Regions from separate parts of the Homo sapiens genome. Here region 2 is linked to region 1. The links are contacts of gene promoters, found by promoter capture Hi-C in human tissues and cell types (Jung and others, 2019). All regions are on one chromosome and are shown on one strand. The core of a region is centred on a gene start or on the middle of the fragment in contact, and the rest is flanking DNA. Distances in the headings are between cores, read along the strand shown. Region 1 holds the start of CACNG5 (calcium voltage-gated channel auxiliary subunit gamma 5). Region 2 overlaps CACNG4 (calcium voltage-gated channel auxiliary subunit gamma 4).

The links. Contacts are between HindIII fragments. The study calls those that stand out against the background at their distance.
Region 2: a fragment that was not itself captured here is called in contact with the fragment with the promoter of CACNG5 in region 1 in 1 of the 25 tissues and cell types used here (neural progenitor cells).

What each region holds. Positions count from the first base shown.
Region 1 is chr17:66,831,017-66,837,934 of GRCh38, forward strand. CACNG5 (calcium voltage-gated channel auxiliary subunit gamma 5) reads left to right here and starts at 4,101. Exons shown (of 6, transcript NM_145811.3): 1 at 4,101-4,234. The HindIII fragment of the contact is 10,169 bases long and covers 1-6,918 here.
Region 2 is chr17:66,981,250-66,988,167 of GRCh38, forward strand. The region is part of intron 1 of CACNG4 (calcium voltage-gated channel auxiliary subunit gamma 4); the gene reads left to right. Among named protein-coding and RNA genes, the nearest start is that of CACNG4, 20 kb to the left of the region's middle. RefSeq lists enhancers at 1,718-2,219, 4,139-4,398. The HindIII fragment of the contact is 7,927 bases long and covers 1-6,918 here.

The DNA of each region.
Region 1 (6,918 bases), core at 2,851-5,350:
TATTTATAGGGGCAACTCCACAGTGAGCTCAATTCTTCTTGCTCTGACCTTGACCAGGTTTTTCTGCCTACACCCCCTCCCAACTTCATGGGGCCCTCTTCCCTCTCCCCCAGCCTCCTGACATACACACGTATGCACACTCTGCACATTTTCAGATACTGCTCATCTCAAACTTGACCTGGATCTGCTGAGAAGCTCTGGTCTCCTCCATCCCCAACACGATTGAAGGTGCCTTGATCGGTCTCGTATTGATCAGTCTGGTATTGATCGTCCCACATCAGTGTTGATGACCACTTAGATCTGGAGTTTGGAATTCCATCTCTGCTCTACACTGGAAGCAACATCTGTTTGCTCAAATAAACCAGTCCGTGTGTACTAGAAGATACATACAGCTCATGCTATGTGGCTGCCAGAGGTCAGTAAGGAATCTCTACTCCTCGTCATCACGTGGGAGTTCAGAGTGACAGAGTGCCATCTTGACAACTGTCTCCACAATCCCAAAGGCAGAGAGACGAGCATGGCAAAGCACTCAGTGATTCCGAAAGCTTCCACCTGGAAGTGACACATGTCACCACCTCCACCCCCAAGGGACCAGAAGGAGGCTGCCTGGCTGGAAGACATTTCCTCCTCCTAGACATAACTGGGCCTCTTCCTTGTCATCCACACAGGCACATTCTGCAAATAATGTGCACATGGATGTGTGTTTCTCATTAAGATCTAATGAGTGAAGCCATCAGATTTGTTCAGACTGGCCCAGGATTCAGAGAGAGAGCTGAGGTTTTATGAAACTCCCCTACCAATGGGGAATCCATGAATTATTAAAAGGATAGAAAAAGAGACCCAGGGTGGAAGGGCTGCTCCATTATTCATCAGGCCTGGAGTCCCCAAATCCCCAAGCACAGCTGTTGGCTTTTACACCTACAGCATTTTCCCATTATGTCTACAGTCAGCCTTTCAAACACGCCGTATTGGCAGCCTCCGAGCAGTGCTCCCGCCCACGTCACCCACTGCCTGTCTCATTATCTGAACCAGTCCGCGGCCCAACCGTGGGACACAGATGTTGGTGTTGCTCACCCACCTTCACGTCCCAGGCTCCCTGATCACAGACCTGAGGGCCTGAGGGCCAAGCTCCTTACAAGAACTGGGAGCCTCTCCCACTCTGGCCCCAGTTGTCTCTTCAGTTTTGTCTCCCTCCATTTCCCATGCCCACCCTACCTCAGACCATTTGCCTTTCCCTGAATGTAATTTCATATTCTCAGGCCTTCGTCTAGGATGACCCCTTTGCCTGAAACTCCCTTCCCAGCCCTCTGTCTACCTGGTGAATTTCTATTTATCATTTACGGCCAGATCAGAGGAAGGGAAACTAACTTTTGCTGAGAGCCCCCAATGTGTCAGACCCTTGTGCAAACATGATCTCGCTTTCGCAAACCAGTGAGGTTGGCGTTATCACCAGCATCAGAGACATAATTTTATGGAGTCCGGTGCAACAATTAAGATGTAGCCCCTTGTTGAAAACTGATTAAGAATTTCGAGATGGCAAAATCAGATCATCAAACCAGGCACAGAGCTTTCCTAAGAGCAAGGCTTTGAGAACCATGAAGCCAGCTTTGGTTATCGAGAAGTGAACGAAAGCTCAGAGAGGTTAAGTAACTTGTCCAAGGTCACACAGCTAGTTGGGGCAGAGCCACGTTGAAGACCTCATTCCATCAGATCCAAATTGCTGTTTTTCAACCACCCATGTTGTGGGGACTTCCCCACTTGCCTTGGGCAGAATGACTGGGGAGGAGGCTTTGAGCACCCCTGGACACTATCTTCCTTTTTTTTTTTTTTTTTTTTTTTTTGAGATGGAGTCTTGCTCTGTCACCCAGGCTGGAGTGCAGTGGCGCAATCTCGGCTCACTGCAAGCTCTGCCTCCCAGGTTCATGCCATTCTCCTGCCTCAGCCTCCCGAGTAGCTGGGACTACAGGCGCCTGCCACCATGCCTGACTAATTTTTTTGTGTGTTTTTTAGTAGAGATGGGGTTTCACCATGTTAGCCAGGGTGGTCTTGATCTCCCGACCTCATGATCTGCCTGCCTTGGCCTCCCTAAGTGCTGGGATCACAGGCATGAGCCACCGCGCCCGGCCACTAGCTTCCCTTTTGAAGGGTGTTTTCTGCAACCAATTGATCTGTTATTTCTCCATAAGCATTGCAAGATGATCCAGAGAATAGGGTCACACAGATCAAAAAGGGGGCCTATCTAGGGGGCAAGTGGACATTCTGGGATTGTTCAATTAACCCACAAGGGAGGACATTCCCTCTTCCACCCACCCCTTTCCTCACACCCAACACCAGGCAGTCTGCTCACCCCCACTCCATACACTTACTCTTCAATGGCTGGAGGACATGGCGACGGCCCGCAGAGGTGACCCACAGGGCATGGATCCCAGGCCAGCCTCTCTGGCCTTTGCTGGGAAAATGACCTGCAGACTTTGCAAAAGGCACATCTCCTGGGTGCTTTGCCCGTTTTCATCTTTTCATTTCATTGATCCAGCCACCTCTGAGGTTTTCTTTGGTGGTTTTCTCCTTGACAGCTTTAGTCTTGGGGAGATGTGTCCAACTTCCAGTCATTCATTCAGCAAATACAATGTGCCTACTATGCGTCAGACTTTCTCCTTTTAAGGGGCTCCCAGCATAGTTAGGGAGATTGACAGTAAATTCATCATTGCCATACTGGTGAGAGCTGTGCAAGAGGCTCCTGGGCCCAGAGACGAAGAAGAAGAAATCCATTCTTGGATTTCCATCAGGGTATTCTGGGGGATAGAGAAGAACACTCTTGGGGTAGGTGGGAAAAGGGAGAAAAAGCGGAAAACTGCATAGGCCTAAAATGCTGTGAATAGACACGTGGTGTATCCTTTCCAAAAACCTTCAGTTGTCCCAACTCCACCTGGCCCCATTCACATGTGACAAAGTCCTCCCATGTCAGGAGACCTCAGCAACATAGATGCTTCTATAAAAGTTTCTGCCCTACAGTTTTAAACTAATATGTTCACTGCTGATGTCTCATTATTTAGCAACCAACTTTGCCCCCAAATATTTCCACATGCCACATCTTTGACCCCCTCTTGGTCTGCAGGGATTTTACAGGCCTTTGAGGGGAAGCTGCTGGTCTGTGAGCATCTGCACAAGTGTGCCGGACAAAGATATCGGTCAGGCTGCCATTTCAAAGCAATAAAAGATATGTGGCTATGCAGGCCAGGAAGAGTTAGCCCTTGGGTTCCCCTTCCAACCTGGCTGACCACACTGGCTCCAGCTGCCACTTTCAAATTAGTCATAGATTAACAAACATCTATTGAGCACCTATTGGGTGTCCAGGACCCAGAGACTAAAGGAGACATAGAACCTAAGAAAGGAAGAAATGTTTTATTGTTAGTTGCCACCATTTATTGGACATATATTACCATTTTACTGTTAAGAGGGACAAACACTTTGCTTAAGGCCACACAGTACAAAAGCAGAGTGGGGCTTTAAAGGCTCAGATTCTGCACTTAGACAGGCCTGAGCTGCAGTCCTGGCTCTGCCATTTTCCAGCTGTGTGTCCTCAGACTCCTCACTTAAGCGCCCTGTGCCTCAGTCTTCTCATCTGTAAAATGGGATTCGTGTGAGAATTAAATGACTTAATACATGTGAAGCTCATTGAACGCTTACACTAGTAAGTGCTCAATAAATACTAGCTGGCATTGTTGTTCTATCACCATCATCATCATCATCATCATCATCATCATCCTTATTTAAAAGCAGCAGCAACGGCAGAGGCTGCAGCCCCAGCTGCTGGAATTTGAAGGTGAGTCTGACTCCAGGCAGGGTCTCCCAGCCCTATGCGGACTCTGAAAGCCTCTCCTCTCCCACGCCGGCCCCCAACTCTTCACCTGCCACCCCCACAAGGGTGCTCACCCCAGAGGTGCTCACCTCCCGGGCTGGGAGACCGCATCTGACCGGTCCCAAACCCCGCCTGCAGCTGGCAGCGCCGGGGTGGGGAGGCCCCGCCCTCGGCCCCGCCCCCTGCCCGCCCCTCCCTCTCGGGGTCCGGGGCGCGAGCTGCGGCGGCGGCGGCCACGGTCATTGGCGCCGAGCGGTTCCGGCTGACTGGACGGGGCGGGCGTCCCGGGCAGCCTAGCGCGGTACCTCCCGCCCCGCGCGCCCAGCCGGCGAGGGACATTGGACCAGGGTCGGGGGTCGCGGCCGCTCCAGCGAGGTAAGAGCCGGGAAGACCGGGAGAGACCACCTCTTCCATCCTGGGGGGGTCCCTGGGGGACGGTCTCCCACCGGTGCTGGGCCGCGGCGCCGGGCTGCGCCCCCATGACAGCCCAGCCAGGGGCAGGGGCTGGAGAGCCCTAGCGATCGCGCACCCTGGAAGGGGCAGTGTGGTGGGGAGCGCGGGCGTGTGTATGCGCGTGTGCGTGTGTCTGTCTGTCCATCTGTCTGTCCCAAGGATGTATCGGGGGAGATGATGACGCCCCCTCTTTGCAGTCGCTTCTAGGCAATTTACCCATGCCAAAGCTGAGGGCAGACTTTTCCACGACGGACTTGAATGGGGCTGGCAGATTATTATCCGGATAATGCAGGAAGGGATAAGCCCACCACCACCTGTTGAGCTGGGCTGTCGGCCTATGCGGGTCCAACTCCCCGCTTATCACAGCCTGCAGGGTGGCCTCATTTCTCCAGCTCGTGGGACCCGGGGCTTCCTTCTCCCGCCTGTGAGAAGGGTTGATAGGAGGAGGTGTCCCTGCCAGGAGCCACTGAGCAGAGATGGACTCGCGGGGGTGATCAGGGTGGTGCTATGGGGACCCCACCGCAGGTGCTGGGCGTGAGGTGTCAACCACCCAGGCACACCCCAAATTTGGATTTCCCCAATCACTCCAAAACCTCTCATTGTGATTCCCCGATCTTTGCTCTCATCCTAATTTGGCAGTTGATGAAGATGCAGCTCGTTAAAAATGTTAAAGTGAAATCAAATTATCACTTCCTAGGACTGAAAATGATTTGAGAAATAATTCCGGGAGCCTGGCTGGGGAGGAAAGAAGCTCATATTCTGACTAGCTTCTCCAGGGCTGCCCCGGGGCTGCCTCCGGTACCTGCCAGGCACGCCGGTGGTTAAGGAAGCCCTTGTTCCCAGAAAGGAAGGGATTCACCCACTTTGCACTGGATTATCAGTGACTGGGTTAGAGCAGGACCCAGGACAGGATCCCCAAGTGGGAGCTGTCTCAGTTTGACAGATGTCACATACAAGCTGTCACCGAGGCTGGCTTCTGCTCCACATCCATCCTGGGGAACACAAGATGGGGCTTCCCCTCCCAGCCACCTCACACCCATTCCCCTCATTTCCACAAACCTGAAGTCTTGATCAATTAACAGCCAGGATTGCCTGGGTGTGGGTGTGGGACCTTGATTGGCTCTGATGTCCTGGATTCAGAGTATCTCAGGACCACAGGCATCTCAGTGGCAGGTTGGTGGCACCTCTTTGCAGACCCTGTAGCCAGCCCCTCATGCCGAAGTCTCCTGCCTGCCTGAGAAGCCCTAGATCTGCCTCACTTCTCTGCTAACGCAGCCCCTGGAGGTAGCTGGGGGACACCTCATCTCAGGGCCAGGTCCCCAGGGTGCCTAACAGGGTGAAATCTGTGCTTGTGCCTGAGACCTCCCCACCCCCAAACCTCCTCTCTCTTGTCATGTGGAAGGCAGTGGATGTGCTGAGGGGCTGGGTAGTCCAGTTCAACGGAAGATAGAGGTGGCCCTGCTGTGGCTGGGGCTGTTGGTGATGTGAGAACCCCAGCATCCTGGCTGGCTGCACCCCAGGCCCCACAAGCCAACAGCACACTTGAGGGAGCTCAGCCATTCTCAGGCTTGTCAGCTGGGGCTCTGTGACTTGGTGCAGGGGGAGATTGGCTGAATTGTTCACGCTTGTTTGGAAGAGACTGGCCTTAGGTTGTTGTGGAAAACGTCGGCTCCAAACCCTGCTAGGTTCCTGACTGTGTGACACTGGCCAACTTACAGAATGCTTGGAGGCTCAGCCTCCTCACCTGTAAGATGGGTCTGGCAGGGGGTTTTGAGAATCAAGTAAGGTCATGAATGAATGACAGTGTCCATTTTACTGGAGGTGGTTCTGGGCTGGTGTTGTGGCCTCTGCTTTCTCTAGCCCCCAGCTTGACTCTCTGACATTGGACTTGAGGGAAGTGGCTGTGTAGCTAGGATCCCTCATGCCATCCTTAGAGGTGGGGGAAGAGGTGTGAATTTTAGTAGCAGGGTAGCTCACAGATTGAGCTTGGATTCCCAAAAAGTGAGGATGGAGGATGTAACCCAGTCTCCAGCAAACTCTGCCTCTGCAGGGAGCTGGCACTTCTGTCCCCAGCTTCTGCCCCGAGCCATTGGTGTCCTGGGCCCACCCCACACAGCCTTCTGGCTCACTGACACTTGGCACATGCCTGCTCTGTCATCTTCTTCTGAGTTTTGGGCCAGTCCTACTCCCTGGCAGAATTGGGACTAGCTACTTAAGACTTCAGGGGCACCAGGACAACCCCTGCCCACCAAATATCATCCTGTTCCCCCAAACCTAGCCATCTGATGCTTAATATCCCACCATTAGAGACTTATGACTGTGGTTCATAGTCTCATGTCAGTTACTAATCCTTAACATCAATGACTTGTTGAGAAGCTTTCAGGGCCTTGGAGAGGAGAGAAAGAGAAGGCAGAACAGAGAGGAGGGAAAGAGAAGCTTGGGGAGTGTAGGAGAGAGAACATTGTACTTTGCCAGCCTCATAGTTCTGCAGAGACAGGCCCAGCTGCTAAGCTCAAGAAGGCCCCAGGGAGAAGGAGAGGCTTGGGGCGAGGGGGAAGGGGCAGGCCTCAGGCAGAGAAAGTTGTGAATATCAAGTGGGAATTCTC
Region 2 (6,918 bases), core at 2,288-4,787, 150 kb after region 1:
TCCAGCTGAGATTCCCAGTACTAGGACTACAAAATTATCCCTCAGTTCTAATCAAATTTGCTACCTTCAGTAGTAATGTCTGTTCCTTTCTTCTTGCTCAGTCTTTCCTATAGCTGAAAACAAAGCAATCATCTTCGACCCTTAATAGCCCTTCATATTCTTGCAAGCAGTTTTTTTGGGTTCTTCTTTGGTCTACCCATCTCTGGAGGAAAGGGAAGGAAATTTACCTGGTTTTTTGTTTTGAAACCTAGTTGCTTTCTCTAGACTGTGGCTTGAAACATACAAGCCTTTGTGCAAAGCACTGGGTCAGGGTTGGGGGTGCTGGGGCCGAGAGAACCACAGGAGACCCACTCTGTTTGTCACCAGTGGCCTCTTGAGCCGCCCGTGAGTAGGACGGTGCTCAGGCGAGCCCGGCAAGGTCCCCTCCGCCCTAGCTGCTTATCCATTCAACACCCTCCTGCTGGCTCCTCTGTTTAGAGTCCAGAATTATGAATAGTTTAAAAAATAAGAGCAAATGCCTGCTGAGCCCTTGCTATGCACCAAGCACATTAGGTATTATCTCAAGAACTTTCCATATGTTATCTCAACTTATCTTTGTAACAGCTATAATTTCACACTAGTTAATTACTTAACTATGATTTAATCAGATTTCAGGTATATTATTGCAGAAAGAGAGCTAACTCTTATAAAAAAAAATTTTTAGAGATACGGTCTCACTCTGTCACACAGGCTAGAGTGCAGTGGTGGGATCATAGTGTGTCCAGAGTTGATTCATTCTGATAGGTTTATGGGCTCGCTGACCTCAAGAATGAAGCCATGGACGTTTGCGGTGAGTGTTACAGCTCTTAAAGGTGGCACGGACCCAAAGAGTGAGCAGCAGCTAGATTTACTGTGAAGAGTGAAAGAACAAGCTTCCACGAGTGGGAGGAGACCCAAGCGGATTGCCGCTGCTGGCTAGGGTGGCCAGCTTTTATTCCTTTATTTGTCCCCGCCCATGTCCTGCTGATTGGTCCGTTTTACAGCATGCTGATTGGTCCATTTTACAGTGTTGATTGGTTCGTTTTACAGAGTGCTGATTGATCTATTTTACAGAGTGCTGACTGGTCCATTTTACAAACCTCTAGCTAGCCACAGAGTGCTGATTGGTGTGTTTTTACAGAGTACCAATTGGCGCATTTTACAAACCTGTAGCTAGCCACAGAGCGCTGATTGGTGCATTTTACAAACCTCTAGCTAGCTACAGGGCGTTGATTGGCGTGTTTTACAATCGTAGCTACAGAGTGCTGATTGGTGCATTTTACAATCCTCTTGTAAGACAGAAAAGTTCTCCAAGTCCCCACTCAACCCAGGAAGTCCAGCTGGCTTCACCTCTCAATAGCTCACTGTGGCTTTGAATTCCAGGGCTCAAGCAATCCTCCCACCTCAGCCTCTTGAGTATCTGGGACTGCAGACGTGCACCACCATGCCCATCTAATTTTAATTTGTTTATAGAGATGAGGTCTTGCTCTGTTGCCCAGGCTGGCTTCAAACTCCTGGGCTCAAGCGATCCTCCTGCTTCAGCCTCCCAAGTAGCTGGATTTACAGGCACAAGCCACCATGCTTGGCTATGAGAGCAAACTCTACTGTGGTTCCTATTAGGTGCCAGGGATTGCCCTGTGCACTTTATATAGATTAACTTGCTTAATCCTCCGCCAGCCTGTGAGGCAGGTGCTAGCACTACTTCCATGGTGTAGATGCAGAAACTGAGGCACGGGGAAGTTAAGCAGCTTGCCCAAGGCCCCGGAGCCAACAAGTGGTGAAGTCAGAATTGAAACCCAGGCTGTCTGGCTTCAGATTCCATTCTCTTCATTCGGCTATACCTCTTCCCAGTTGATAACAGTGGTAGCTATGACATGAAAATCTCTGCAGGCACTTTGCAGAGTTCACTTCCTCCTCACAATGCAGCATGGATGGCACTCCCCTTGTGGGAGACTCACCAGCCTGTGACACCCCCCAGCACCTGCACCCAGGTCTCCAGCCCCAAAGCCCCTGGCAAGATCTTTCTCAGCCCCATGCTAAAAACAGTCACATGCCTGCTGCACGCTGGGGAAAAGGCGAGGTTGTGGGGTGGCTCAGTGTGCTGCGAATATCCAAAATAACCCATGGTGACCCCAGGAATCTGGGGCCACAGTGAAGGCTACCCAGGCTGGAGGAGGAGTTTAGATGGGAAGAGAGCAGGACCCGCCCCTCAGGTGTGTCCCCGTGGTTGCCAGATGCTGGCTGTGGGCTGGGCTGGCACAGCAGGCTTCTTGGAGGAGGTGGGCACAGCGTCGTGACCAGAACAACGCACGATGCCAGGCCCCAGGTCTGACTCATGCAGTCTAAAGAGAAAGGATTCTGCTGTCAGACTGAGGGCGGCTCTTCAGATGGGGCACTCTCCGCAAAGAAGGTGAAAATCATTCTGCTCGAGACAGATCCTTTAAGAAGACATTAACCATGCACTTCAAAGCCCTGGAACCCATGTTTTGCAGGGGCTGCCACCCACTGGCACACTTTCACACCCAGGTTCTGGTTGTTGGCATTCACGTGGTGACTCCCAGCTCGCACAAAGCAGATAGAAAAACAGGCTGATCATACTGTGTGTTTCCATTCATACCCTGTTCAAAAGCAGGCAAAACGAATGCAAGGCAGCGGAGCTCAGCACAGTGGCTCCCTTTGTGGGCTGTTGTCTGGGAGGGTGCAAGGTGTGTGAACAATGTTCTATATTTTGATCAGGGTGCTGGTTATACGGGTGTAGACACATGTTCATCTAACTGCACCCTTAGGATTACTCTCTGTAGATTATCTTCAGTAAAAATTAAAAATAGTAGCCAGCTGCAATGGCTTGAACCTGTAATCCTAGCACTTTGGGAAGCCAAGGCAGGAGGATCACTAGAGGCCAGGAGTTCAAGACCAGTTTGGCAACATAATGAGACCCCGTTTCTAACAACAACAAAAAATTAATTAGCTGGACATGGTGGTGCACACCTTTAGCCCTAGCTACACAGGAGGCTGAGGTGGGAGGATTGCCTGAGCCCTGGAGTTTGAGGCTGCAGTGAGCCACCACTGCACTCCAGCTCTGGGCAATAAGCAAGACCCTGTCTCAAAACAAAAACAAAAAACAAATATAGGTCTGGGATGACAAAGACTCACAGATGGCCTGCCACCAGCCTGCACCCGCCCCCATTCATCCCCAACTGCTGGCCTGTATTTTCTTCAGTCCTAGGTGATCCAGCAAATACTAGTCGAGAATGTGTGTGCCTAGCCCTGTGCTATGTTCTGGGGACTCGTTCATTCATTCATTCAGCACTTATTTTTGCACCCAGCCTCTTGGGAACAGGGTTTGACCTTCTGGAGGAGAAAGATACTCCTGTATCTGCAGATTCTGAGACTCGGAGCTGTTCAGAATGACATGACCTCCCACTTGTTCCTGCCTCGCCATCTGCTTGTGCTGTCTCTCATGGGATCCTCATAACCCCACAGGAAGGTGGGTTCTGTCACCCTGGATTCTTCACCCAGAAGGCGAAGCAGCAGGGGCAGAGTTTGACTTGAACCCGAGCCTGAGTTTAGCCTCGAGCCTGAGCCTGCCTCAGGGTCCCCAGGGTTACCAGGCTGGGAGTCTGTGCTGACAACAAGCCCAGTGTCATTCTGCTCACCTCGACCTCATCCTTGGGGAAATGCCCCACTGAGCTGAGCACACCAGCTCAACGAGACCAGACCAAAGGGTGGCAGGGGACTGACATGGTTGGGGTGAGGAGGGTCTGACCCAAGGGCAAAGAATGGCCTTGCTTCTCTGAGACCGTCCTCTCTCCCAGCCTGGGCAGCTGTGATCGGGAGATACTGCCTGGTACCCTGCTCTGGGGGGCTCCCACCACCCGCCCTCATCCTGCCTTATCTGTTTCCAACTCCCTACCTGCATTTTCTTAGTCTCTATTCAAATCCAGAAAATGCTCATTGAGGATTTGAAAACTAAATCCCAGGCTGAGTCCTGGGCACTCCCAGATTCATTCATTCATTCATTCAGCAAATATTAATATTGAGTGTCTGCTACTGCTCAAGCAGCATTCGAAGTGATAGGGAAAGTTTTCTTCATAGCAGAGAATAAAACAGACAGCAATTCAGTAATGAGTCTATTGTCCAAGAGAGACAAACAAAAAGCAAGAAAAGAAAGGAGTGTCAGGGTGAGGCTTGTGATGTTAGAGTGTCATTTGTCTTAGTGCACTCAATTCCAGGGAGGCTTGGCCTCTATCAGCCTGGGAAAGTCCCGGGGGGCTTCCCAGAGGAGGCAACATTACTCTTGTCTTGCAGAATGTGTAAGAGTTCCCCAGGCAGGGGAATATACAGAGGCACACGTCTTCCTTCCTGAATGCACACATGCAGTCTCCTATTCATTCTTTATTCATCCAGCAGACATTTTATGGAGCACCCAGATGAAAAGTAGAATCCTGTCCTGTTCCTCAAAGAAATCAGCGTCCAGTGGGAGAAGGGAGACAGAGGGACGGCCATCTGTTACGATTCTGTGTGGAAATGCGTTAAGTGCACGTCCAAGGAGTGGCAGTAGCACAGAGTGGGAAGAGGAAGGTCCTTGGAGGCAAGGGATGTGGTCAGGGAAGTTTCTAGATGGTAAGTCATGTGAGCCAGTTTAGGAAGATGAACACAAGTTTGTTTAAAAAAGGAAAAAAAAAAGAAGAAGAAGAAGAAGAAGAAGGTTCCAGACAGAACACAGGCAAAGTTCCAGAAACATCATGCCTGCTCCGGGGCATTCCATAGTTACCCAGTGCCTACCAGGGGCCCCCGGCCCTGAGCCAGCTCCTGGGATGCATGGGACAGAGGGATTGTTCCCGGATGCCTAAGAAATCTGGTACTATCGAAACAGAAAGCCTCTTATGAGAGGAGGCCAGAAGCTGGGGACAGGGAGGTAGGAGAACAGAAGCAAAAGGGCCCTTCGCTCCATCATACCTGCTTAGGAGCCTGCCTCTGGCCCTCCTGGCCCAGCCGTGTGGGTTGAGGGTCTCACCAAGGGGACATTCAGAGCTGATGTGTGTCTGGAGAGCTCATGTGGCTTCTCCTATGCAGGACGGAGCGGAGGGAGCAAGGCTAGGGCAGGGGCACTTGTTGGGGAAACACTGGAAAATTCCAGCCCGGGGGGATGAGTCCTGAATTAGGACAGTGGAATGGAGGAGATGGTGGATTTGAAGGAGATGGTGCCTTGGAAATAGACTGGATGCAAGAATGAGAGCCCATTATGGGGAAGGGTGATGTCACTGAGCAAGACAGGACACACAGGAAGAGCAGAAGACATATGAGTGAGGCGGATAAGTCCAGCTCCAGGGGGAGGGCACAGATCGCTTGGAGCAGATGGTACAAGGCTTGCGTCTTAACTAATGTCTTCACTCTTTAACTATCTCCAATTTACAGAGAGAATTTAGCTTCCAGTGGTTGCTGGCAATCTTTGGTGTCCCTTGGCTTTGTAGAAGCATCACCTTCGTCTCCGCCTTCTCTTCACATGGCGTTTTCCCTGGGTGCATGTGTCTCTGTCCAAATTTCTCTTTTTATAAGAACACCAGTCATACTGGATTAGGGTCTACCCTAATGACATCATCCTTAACTATACTACATCTGTAATGACTTTATTTCAAAATGAGGCCACATTCTGAGATACTGGGGGTTAGGACTTACATGAATGGATTTGGTGTGGGGAGGGGACACAGTCAATTCTTAACAGCCACATCTTGAGTGATTCCATTTATACGAAATATCCAGTGTATTTACAGAAAAAAGACAGCAGATTCGTGGTTGCCAGGGGCTGAGGGGAGAGGGGAATGGGATTGACTGCTTAATGAGTACAGGGTTTCCATTTGGGGTGATGAAAATTTTCTGAAACAAGGAAACAGGCTCAGAAAGATTAGGTAACTTGCCTGAGGTCACACAGCTGCTAAGTGGTTAAGATGGGATTTGTTCCAAAGTTTGTATTCTTTCTATTGCAATTGGGTTCAAGTGGAGGTTTCTTCTTGGACAAATTATTTAGATTCCCAGACCCTCATTTCCTTATCTACACAATAGAGTCAACATATCACCCTTATCCTCTACCCATGTGAGAATTCACAGAACTCACCTAGTGAGAGTCACTGGTACATTCTGAATGCTTACTAAATGGTCATTATCATTACTCTCTCAGTCAGGGTCCATCCAGGAAAACAGAAACCACTCTGTGTCTTTCAGACAGAGGAAATTTAATAGAGGGAGTTGATCACTCGGGTGATGGAAGAGCTGAGAAGCCAAACAGGAGAAGCATCAGGCACTGAGATGTGGGGCTGCAGGAAGCCCCTTTCAGAGAGAAAATGAGAGAGTGGTTTTACCGGAGGAGGTTGGGACCACAGAGGGAGGGGCTTTCCAGAAGTAACTAGACCCCCAGAGGAGATGCAGCAGCTGCAGAAACACTGTCCAAGGAAGAGGGGGCGAAATACCCTGACTTTCCCCTTTTGACGGCCCTCTTTTCCATCAGAGCCTCCTACTGACCAAACCTACCCAGAAGCCAAGGGCAAGGGAGCCTGGGAAGCATGGTTCCTGGGATAAAGAAGCGATCTCAGCGGTGCATTCAGCTGGTGAGCAGAGCTTACTGTTGGTCTCTGTGTGCCGGTTCATGCACGATGTTGGCATGCTCGAGACTGGGCATGGTCCCAGTGTGTGCATACTCTAGGTATGCACCCAGGAAAGGAGGCAGAGTGGGAGCCCTTGAGAGTGTGCTTTATGGCTATACATCCTTTTTGTGTGTGTGTGTGTGTGTATATATATATATACACACACACACACACATGCAACTGCACACAGTGTGGTCACAGAGCTACCACCCTGATAGCACCCAGCTTGGCTGCATGAATCCCCGTGTACTGCACCTGG